2 separate regions of the Homo sapiens genome follow, and region 1 is linked to region 2. Evidence: promoter capture Hi-C in human tissues and cell types (Jung and others, 2019). All regions are on one chromosome and are shown on one strand. Each heading gives the region's core, a stretch centred on a gene start or on the middle of the fragment in contact. The rest is flanking DNA. Distances are from core to core; before and after follow the strand shown.

Region 1 (4,462 bases), core at 1,419-3,918, 1.6 Mb after region 2:
CAGGTGTGAACCACCACACCCGACCTCTTTTTGCCCTTATAATTGGAGCCTCCAAAATGGATGTGACCTGGATTTCTCTTGACCTCCCAGAAGCCCTAATCTAGGCCAAAGTACCAGGATTGGAAGAAGCTAAAAACCCCAGAAATCCCTCTGAAGGGCCGAACTGTCAATACCTGAGCTCTGGTATCATAAGTTGCCCCGTGATGACACAGCCGAATGGGATTGGACTTGGCTCAATCTAGCTCATCCCAGAAGCTGTTCATGTTGCTTTTCCTGTGGTTGGAGAAACCATGGAGGAAGTGCTGGCCCCTATTCCTTCAATATTGCTGTGAATGTTCCTTTGCTTTGCAGTGAATGGAGGCTCAACCCCATCTCCCAGAACAGAGCTTCTTAACCTCAGCACTACTGACATTGGGACTGGAGAATTCTGGGTTGTAGAGACTGTCCCACACAGTGTAGGATGTCCAGCAGCATCCCTTGCCTCTGCCCAATAGTAGCAACCCATTGCCAGCTGTGACAACCAAACACGTCTCTAGACATTGCCAAATCTTCCCCAGTAGAGAACCACTGCCACAGAATAAATAGAAGGATTCATGAGGCAGGTAGTTTGCTAAACTTTGTCCAAGTAATGTGATTAGTCTCCCCTGGTCTGATACTTTAGCGAAGGCCGTGATGATGTTGTGTATAGTGGTAGTGGTGTTGGCGGGGAGAGGTTGGCCTTGTATTATCTGGATAATTGATCAGTCCTCCTTCATGCCATGTTGTAGACAGGACCACGGTCTCCTTTGGGTGAAAAGAAACACTTCTTTGTACTACTGAAAAAGTCATGTTTCATTAATATGATGACAGGGACATAACCTAAAGGCTGAAATCTTAGGAGTTTGGGGCATTCTGTAAAAATCGATTTCTTATTATTACTTTTATATTCTCAGAGGACATTTCTAAGGAAGACATTTCAAATTGTGACTTTTGCCCCCTAGATGTACCATTCAGAAGGCCCCCTTTAAGCTGTCTTAATGCATCTGGGCTGCTCTCACAAAAATGCCATAGACTGGGTGGCTTAAACAACAATTTATTTGTCATGGTTCTGGAGCTGGGAAGTCCAACATCAAGGCACCAGCAGATGAAGTATCTGGTGAGAGCCTGCTTCCTGGTTCATAGACTGCTGTCTTCTCACTGTGTCCTTACATGGCAGAAGGGGTGAGGGAGCTCTCTGGTGTCTCTTTTATAGGGGCACTAATCTCATTCATGTGGGCTACCCTGTCATGACTACGCATCTCCCAAACACCCTGTCTCTTAATACCATCACATTGATGATTATGAATTTTGGGGGAATACAGTCACTCAGTCTATAGCACAAGCCTTACAAAAACTTCCTTCTCTTGAATCCCTTTCTCTGCTCTTTCCCCTTAGTGGCCCATCTGTCCTACTTTGGGCACAAGCTGGTTTTGGCAAACCTCACACATGTGTATGTGCTTTTAGAAAAAGCCCTTAACCTTCTGTGTCATCATTCTCCAGAATGGAATGGTTTTTGTCTAATGATTGGTAAAGAAGCTATTCATAAAGTTGTCAGCAGAAACAGGTGGCTGGAAAGGATGATTGCTTGCACAGTGTTCTAAAGCTTTTTCACAGCGTTCCCCTGGTGAGAGACAGCAGGGTGAAAAAACATCTAATGGGTAAGGTAATTTAACAGAAATTCATAGCGGGTTTGAAAAACATCTCACACCTCTAGTGAGAGGAGAAATCATTGGCAATAGATGGGTGCACAAATGACTTTCAGAAAATGCCTCAGAGAACATGGAGTTCTTAAAATGACTTATTACAGATGAATACAAAGACATCTTAAGGATCTTACCTGAGTCCTGACCATATATATAGATGATCTTTTTTTTTTTTTTTTTTTTGAGAGTCTCGCTGTGTCATCCAGGCTGGAGTGCAGTGGTACGATCATGGCTCACTGCAGCCTCGACCTCTCAGGCTCAAGCAATCCTCCCCACTTCTCCCACTTCAGCTTCCCAAGTAGCTGGGACTACAGGTGTGCACCACCACACCCAGCTAATTTTTTATTCTTTTGTAGAGATGGGGTCTTACTATGTTATCCAGGCTTGTCCCAAACTCCTGGGTTGAAGTGATGCTCCCGCCTTGGCCTCCCAAAGGGCTAGGATTACAAGCATGAGGCACCATGCCTGGCCTAGATTGTCTTTTTTTTCAGGCATCATTTCAAGTATCCTCTGAGAGAGAGGAACAGAAGAACCTGATACCATTGCAGTGACCTGGGAGAACAGAGCAGTCCTTCTCAGACCTCAGTGTGCTCAGCACTGGGCCTCTGGTTAAAATGCAGATTCCATGTAGTAGGTCTGGAATCGAGGCTGACATTCTGCATTGCCAACAAACTCCCAATGATGCAGAAGCGACTGTCCGGCTCCACTTTGGAAAGCCAGGAAGTAGAGTACTTATTTGGGAAAAAGCTACAAATGCTCACACAGTTGGAGAAGCAGTGATCCAGCAGAGAAGTTACTTGACTTGCCCAAAGTTGCAAACAACAGTGAGAGTGAGTGAGATCTGTGGCTGGCGCTCCTGGTTCCTGAGCCCGTGTTCAAGTCTAGATTACGCTGTTTCCCTCATTCCAAGTACAAGGAGTAGCTGCTGCACTGTGACCTCCCCATTGGACAATGAAAGGATTTTACGCCCCACTTCAAGCTGCATCCTACCCAAATCTACCTAATGAGCCATTACCCTTCTTTAAAACAACTGTGTGACCAGACCACTTAGGAGTGTGGAGTGTGACCACTTAGGACTCCACACAATGAGCCAGAACCGTCCAACTCAAGGCTGGTGTTTCTGAAGGCTTGCACTGGGAGGAGCGCCCCCTGCCGCTCAGCCCTGAGTCCACAACCCCACCTGCACGTTGCTCAATGTCCTGACCTCCTGCTGTCTCAACATCAGAGCTATTTACCGATTTCCTCTCTTTGCTAAAACAACAACCACCACAACAACAAACTTCTCATGAACTGGGGTTTCTCAATCTGCCCTCGTACTTTTGCTCCCCAAGAATTCAGTGCTGTATGTACAGTGGGAAATGGAAACAATAGAACCATGTTTCAGCTGAAACTGGCACAGTTAAAAAAAAACACCAACCACGAAAAAACTAGAATGCCTACATAAGCTTGGGGATTTTTTCGTGCTTTATGCTTAAGACGCTTTTGAAAGGTTGCAGCTAAAAGTAAAATTTGTTTTGATAGCATTCTCAGCAACAGAAAGCAAATGAATCTCTTGTCCTCCCCATGGAAGTAAAAAGAAGGAGCCCAGTTGCTGCTCTGGAGAAAGTGGCCATGGAATTTACCTTCTCTGTCCTTAGAATGAAAGGCCTCAAAGCAGCCTTCGTTTGCAGGCTTTGCAGGACTTTGCTGATGTAAAAAGCCTTAGAAGCCGTTGAGTCTTTGAAGTCTTTCTTGGCTCTAACAGGAGGCTAAAAGCCAAGTCTCTCGAATTCGGCTTGTTCCCTGGGCCTGGAAAGAGACTGAAATCCATCTTGGTGGCCACCCAACCACACCTGCTCCACCACACCCTGCGATAACAGAGTGAGACCCGGAGGCCAGGAGATGCCTTTTGGGGGTGTGTCCTTGGTAAGTGAGGCGCATCACTGAGTGACTGTTTGGGGTGAAATCAGCCTTTAGGGAACATTTCTCAGATACTTTTCTTGCTTTACCAAACAAGGCTGAGCATCCAGGTTGGTGGGACCTCGGCCCAATAAAAGCCAAAAATCCGAGTTAGTGTATTAGTACAGAGAAAAACAAAGTGAGTATAAAGAAAAAAGTATTTAAAAAATCTGAGTTAGGAAAGGTGCAGGCTCAGATAAAAGACACAAAATGGGCCAGTCACATCTCCTTCTGGACCCAGTGCCCAGCTGAGCTTGACCATGACAATCAGTAACCGTGGACCTGCCTGCCAGAGGCGCCCGGCTGTCCTGGGGTGGTGGGTCCTCAGTGGCCGTCCGTCCCCACTCCTGCCACCTCATGTCACGCCAAGAGTTGGCTTGGCAGCAACTAAGTCCCCCAAGCTGTGTCTGTGTGTCAAGGAGCACCTTGAGGGACCCTGTCTCCCACATCTCTGTGTCCGCTCTGTGTCCTCTCTGTGTCCTCAGTCCCATTAAACATTGGTCCATCTACATTGAATCCTCACGCCACCCAATACTTCTTTCTCCCCCAAACAATACTCACCAAAAAAAAGACATCCAGAACAAGTAGACCTGTCATCACACCACATCACAGATACACATGACTAACATTTGTCTTAGCCCAGAAAGCTCTTTCTTCCTCCTTCTCTCTTTTTTTTTTTTTGTCTTAGAGACAGGGTCTCACTATGTTGCCCAGGCTGGCCTCGAACTCCTGGGCTGAAGTGAATCTCTTGCTTCAGCCTCCCAATATCTCAGACTACAGGCATATGCCCCCACACCCAGCTG
Region 2 (4,343 bases), core at 117-2,616:
CTTCCTGAACTTAAACACTGGGTTTAAAAAAAAAAAAACAGTCACAGGTGCGGGGACACTGGTCCCCTGCCTGCTGCGAAGTAGATAACGCGAGGACAGCCTCAAAACAACTCCAGACGCTTCGGGTGCCTGAGCCTCACTCGGTGGGGGCGGCGCAGAGGTCCACGTGCAGTACGCGAGCTGGGGAGGTGCGGGAGCCCGCGCTCTGCCCGTGCGCCGCCGACCCACTCACTGCCGCTCGGGGCTTTGGGTTCCCCCCATGCAAAAGGAGGACCATGCTATGTCATCAAGGGCTGATGCGAAGAAGAACCCAGAAGCAGGCGTCAATAAGTAACGAAAGAATGGGGGTAGCCGTGCCTAATATCGTTGCTGCCGTGGCAATTACTGCAACGGAGGCTTGAGAGTTAGGGCGCCAGAAACGCAAACTTTCCAGGGGACCAAACTCATCCAAGCCTCCTAAGGGGCCTGTGGAGACCTCTGCCCGCTCTGGGCCCCGCCGCCGTCCGCGGTCCGCGCCACCTTTCCCGCGGCTGGCTCCAGGCGGGGCGGGGCAGCGGCGGCGCGGGCCGGGCGGCGGGGAAGGGAGGGAGCGCGGTTGCACACGCGGGCCACTGCCCCCAACGGCTGCGCTGGGCTCGCGGCGCCGTACCCCGAACGCCGCAGCCTCCGCCTCCGCCGCCGCCGCCACCGCCACCGCCACCGCCGTCGCCGTCGTCGCGGCTGCCGGGGCCGCCGAGCCCCGCCGCACTCGCTCCGGGCGGGCTCACCCTCCTCGCGGGACAGGGGGGCGCAGCGCGCAGTCCCGGGGAGCCCTCCTCGCCTCGCCGCCGCGCTGGGCCCGGGCCCCCCCTCGCGGCCCCAGCAGGTGGAGGCGCCCCGCGCCCCGCTCCGCAGCCCCCTCCCGCTGCGCGCCAGCCCGCGCGGGCGCAACTTTCTTAAAGGGACAGGTGGACCGAATCCGCGTCCACCTGGGGCCCCGTCTCTGCCTCCCGGCCCGTCCTCCACTTTGGGGGAGAGAGGGGGTTGCAACAGATCTCTCCGCCCGCCCACGTCCTTTGCCCCAGGCGGGATTGCAAGTTTTAATGCACCCAGCCTCCTTTTGCAACTTAATTCCCTTGGCCGAAATCACCCTCCCACTGCTCCTCAACGCATGCTCTCGGGCATGCAGTTGTTGTCACTGTTGGCAAAGTTTGAAGAGGGGTCCCTACCCCTGCACTCCTCCGCCCCGCCCCCCTCACACACACCCCCCCCCCAGAACCCCGGGGCGTGCAAGGCTCGCGGCTGCTGGGAAACGCCCGCTGCAATCCCCTTGACCCTGCCCTGTAACTGACCCTTGGGGAAAAGCCCCCCGCACGGCTACTGCGCATGCTCTGAGCTGGACAGCTCCAGAGAGGGAAATTTAAAAACGGTTCGAGCTGCGACGGCGGCCAAATTGCGGAACGCGAGGGGCGAGCGCGAGGGAGCCCCCCTCCGGAACCCCTGCCCACCCCCGGAGCGCCGGCAGCGGCGGCCCCGCGAGGATCGGCTCCAGGTACCGCCTTGCAGGGTCGGCTTTGCTCCCTCCTCCCGGGCAATGCCGGGCATTGCATTTCCAGGGTAGAGACCCGGGCGCAGGGGCTGCGGGGCCGCCTCCCTCTGCTCCCTTTTCCTCCTTCCTGGGAATCCTTCGATGGCTTTGGGGGCGGAACTGAGGCTTTGGTGGGCTTTTATGTTGGTTCAGGCTTGGAGTTTGAGAAACTTAGGGAACTCAAATATTTTTATTATTTTTTTAAGGCAGTGTTTGTGTGTTGCGGGGACGTGGGTGGTTGGATTGGTTTTCCAGTAAGGGCTTGTGGCATTTCTGAAGGCATTTCAGGGCAGGAGCTTGCGGGGATTATTCCCTTTGCAAGTGGGAATTTGTTCCCCCAGAGAAATACACATGTCACATCCAGCTGCCCCTTATTTTGAAAGTGATCATAACCAAACTGAGGTTGAAAATATAAGGCTTGGAAGGAAATCGTTTTTCTGATTCCTATTTTGTGAGTCCACATTTTCCAGGTTTGACATTTGGATTCTAGAGCTTCCCTTGCTCTTCCCCCATTAATTCGAAAGAACCGGGAATTTCATTTCATTCTCTTCATTTGTTTCTAAAACGCTGTAGAATTGCCCTGGGAAAGTGACCTGAGATGCCCAGGAATCCTCTAGAACTTTTTTCTTTAAAGAAAAAAAAAGTGTTCTGTGAGTTGATTGTGCTCCATCTTTCTGAATTGCGGGAAAACTGTGGGTTTCTGCCCTGTCCATATCGTCGCTGATGGGAGCTTTGTTTTCTGCTTGTCTTTTCCCAAGGAGATGATAGAAAGTGACACCTCATCCATAATGTCAGGAATTATTCGAAACTCAGGGCAAAATCACCACCCCTCTCCACAGGAATACAGGTGAGGGCTCCAACAATAACAAACTATATATTTTTTAATTGCTCAAAGTGTTTGTATGCTGTTTATGGTTTCTGAAACTGCCCAAGAACTATTGTTATGTTCAATTCTGTGATTTTTGCGGGAGAGCTGGAAAGTCTTGATTTCAATGTTGGTCTTGCTAAGGGTGTCTGGGCCACAACCTGGCCCAGTGGGACCACGAAATGCCTGCTGTCTCTTGTCCCCTCCAAAAGAGGTCCGTTTCTGCATTTGATACTGTTTGGGCATCCTGGTGAATGTTAAGATGACAATAGCAGCTACTGCTTCCCCTCCAGTGGCCTTAATGGGGGCTGTGGGAAATGCTCCCCCACCCCCTGCCAAAAAAAAACCTTCTGGGAGGAATTGGGTTCTATCCTCCACAGATGTTAAGAAAGTAGTCAGATATGCTAAGTTCTCAGCCAGGCTGTGTGACATTCAGCAAGTCCTTTGCCCTGGGCCTCACTTCCTCATCATTTAATTGATCTTGTTGAAGTAGATGATCTTAAGGTTTCTTCTAGGCCTCATGTGTTTGAAGAGTAAATTAGATGGAAACTGAGGCCTTGAAACAGGGTGAAGCAAGGTACAACTGAGAGGATGCATGGAAGCCTTCAGAGCCCTTCTGTCTTTTTTTGTCTTCAAACATCATAGCCAAAAAGGCCTTTAGGAGGTCAACCAGTCTGCGCACCCCCTATTTTTTTTACAGTTGGGGAAACTGAGGCCAAGAAAGGGGAAAGGGCTTGTCCAAGGTCTCCAGGAGGGAAAAGGAGGAAAAGGAAGGACCTGGAGTCCCCTCCCGGCCTCTTTCCCCTTGAGGCCAGGGAGCCCTGACCTCGTTTCCAGGGCTCCCCCGACAGAGCAAGCAACATGTCTGTAGGCTGAGGGGGCACAGTCCAGATTACGGAATGGGGACAGGACCAGGGCTGGCCTGGGAAGAGCAGGCTGTCACCTCCTATCAGCCCTGTTTACCCAGGGTTTGTCTGGCCCCCCCGGGGTCACTGCAACTCACCAGGAGTGCCTGCTGGGACAGACCGCAGCCCGCAATTAGAGGGAGGCTGCTTCCTGAGGGCTGTGGGCCTGGAAGCTGCCTTCTGAGATCCAAACGAGGACACAGATTCAAACAGATATTTGCAGAGAGCCTGCTGTGTGCAGAGCTGGGGCCAGGTACGTGGCAGTTTGCAAGCACCTACTGTGTGCCATCCCCCATCACTCACCTCATCTCGGGAGGTTGCTCTGATGAGCCCTGTTGTATAGGTGAGGAAACTGAGGCTTAGAAAAATGAAATGGCTTCTCCCAAGATCACACAGCCAAGGGCCTCTAGGCTTCCTTCCAGCACTCTCAGGGTTTAAATAATGCCAAGTGATTTAGTGGCAGTGTAAGGGTTAGCAGCTTAGGCTCTCAAGTCCATTATAATCCCAACTTCTCTGGCTACGTGGAGCTCTCTGAGCCTCAGCTTCTTCATCTGTAGAATGGGGATAGAAATAATACCCACTGCATGGAGTTGTTATGACAATTTAGTAATCATTTTTGGCTCTGCCATTCACCAATTATGAGCAGATTCACCTGTGAACTTTCATAGTTTTGTGCAATGGGGATAGTAAAAGCTAGCTCTGGAGGGTTAAATGATATATGTATCATATTATCTATGAAGGCACCTGACACCCAGCAGGCACTGAATGTATCCAGGGTGAATCTACTTCTGCCCTCCTAGCTGCAAGCCTGGGCGAGCGCATCCTTCCTCCAGGTTGGCTTTAAGAGCTCAAAGACATTGAATCTTACTGTTGCCTAAAAGCGCCCCTTAAAAGCACTGGAGATAGGGGAGTCAGAGAGTGAGAACAATTGCTAGGATTCAGACACGTGCAGGTTCAAAGCCCAGCTTTAGGCAGGGCCGGTGACTTGCTTTTGTTTCTCATCTTT

Evidence for each region. The method cuts DNA at HindIII sites, captures the fragments that hold promoters and counts their contacts. A contact is called where the count stands out against the background at its distance.
Region 1: a contact is called between a fragment that was not itself captured here and the fragment with the promoter of FOXN4 in region 2, in 1 of the 25 tissues and cell types used here (lymphoblastoid cells).

The regions. Positions count from the first base shown.
Region 1 is chr12:107,669,649-107,674,110 of GRCh38, reverse strand. No RefSeq gene overlaps it. Among named protein-coding and RNA genes, the nearest start is that of PWP1, 14 kb to the left of the region's middle. The HindIII fragment of the contact is 4,062 bases long and covers 638-4,462 here.
Region 2 is chr12:109,306,307-109,310,649 of GRCh38, reverse strand. FOXN4 (forkhead box N4) reads left to right here and starts at 1,366. Exons shown (of 10, transcript NM_213596.3): 1 at 1,366-1,531; 2 at 2,326-2,414. The coding sequence starts at 2,329. It also overlaps a transcript of MYO1H not described here. The HindIII fragment of the contact is 10,264 bases long and covers 1-4,343 here.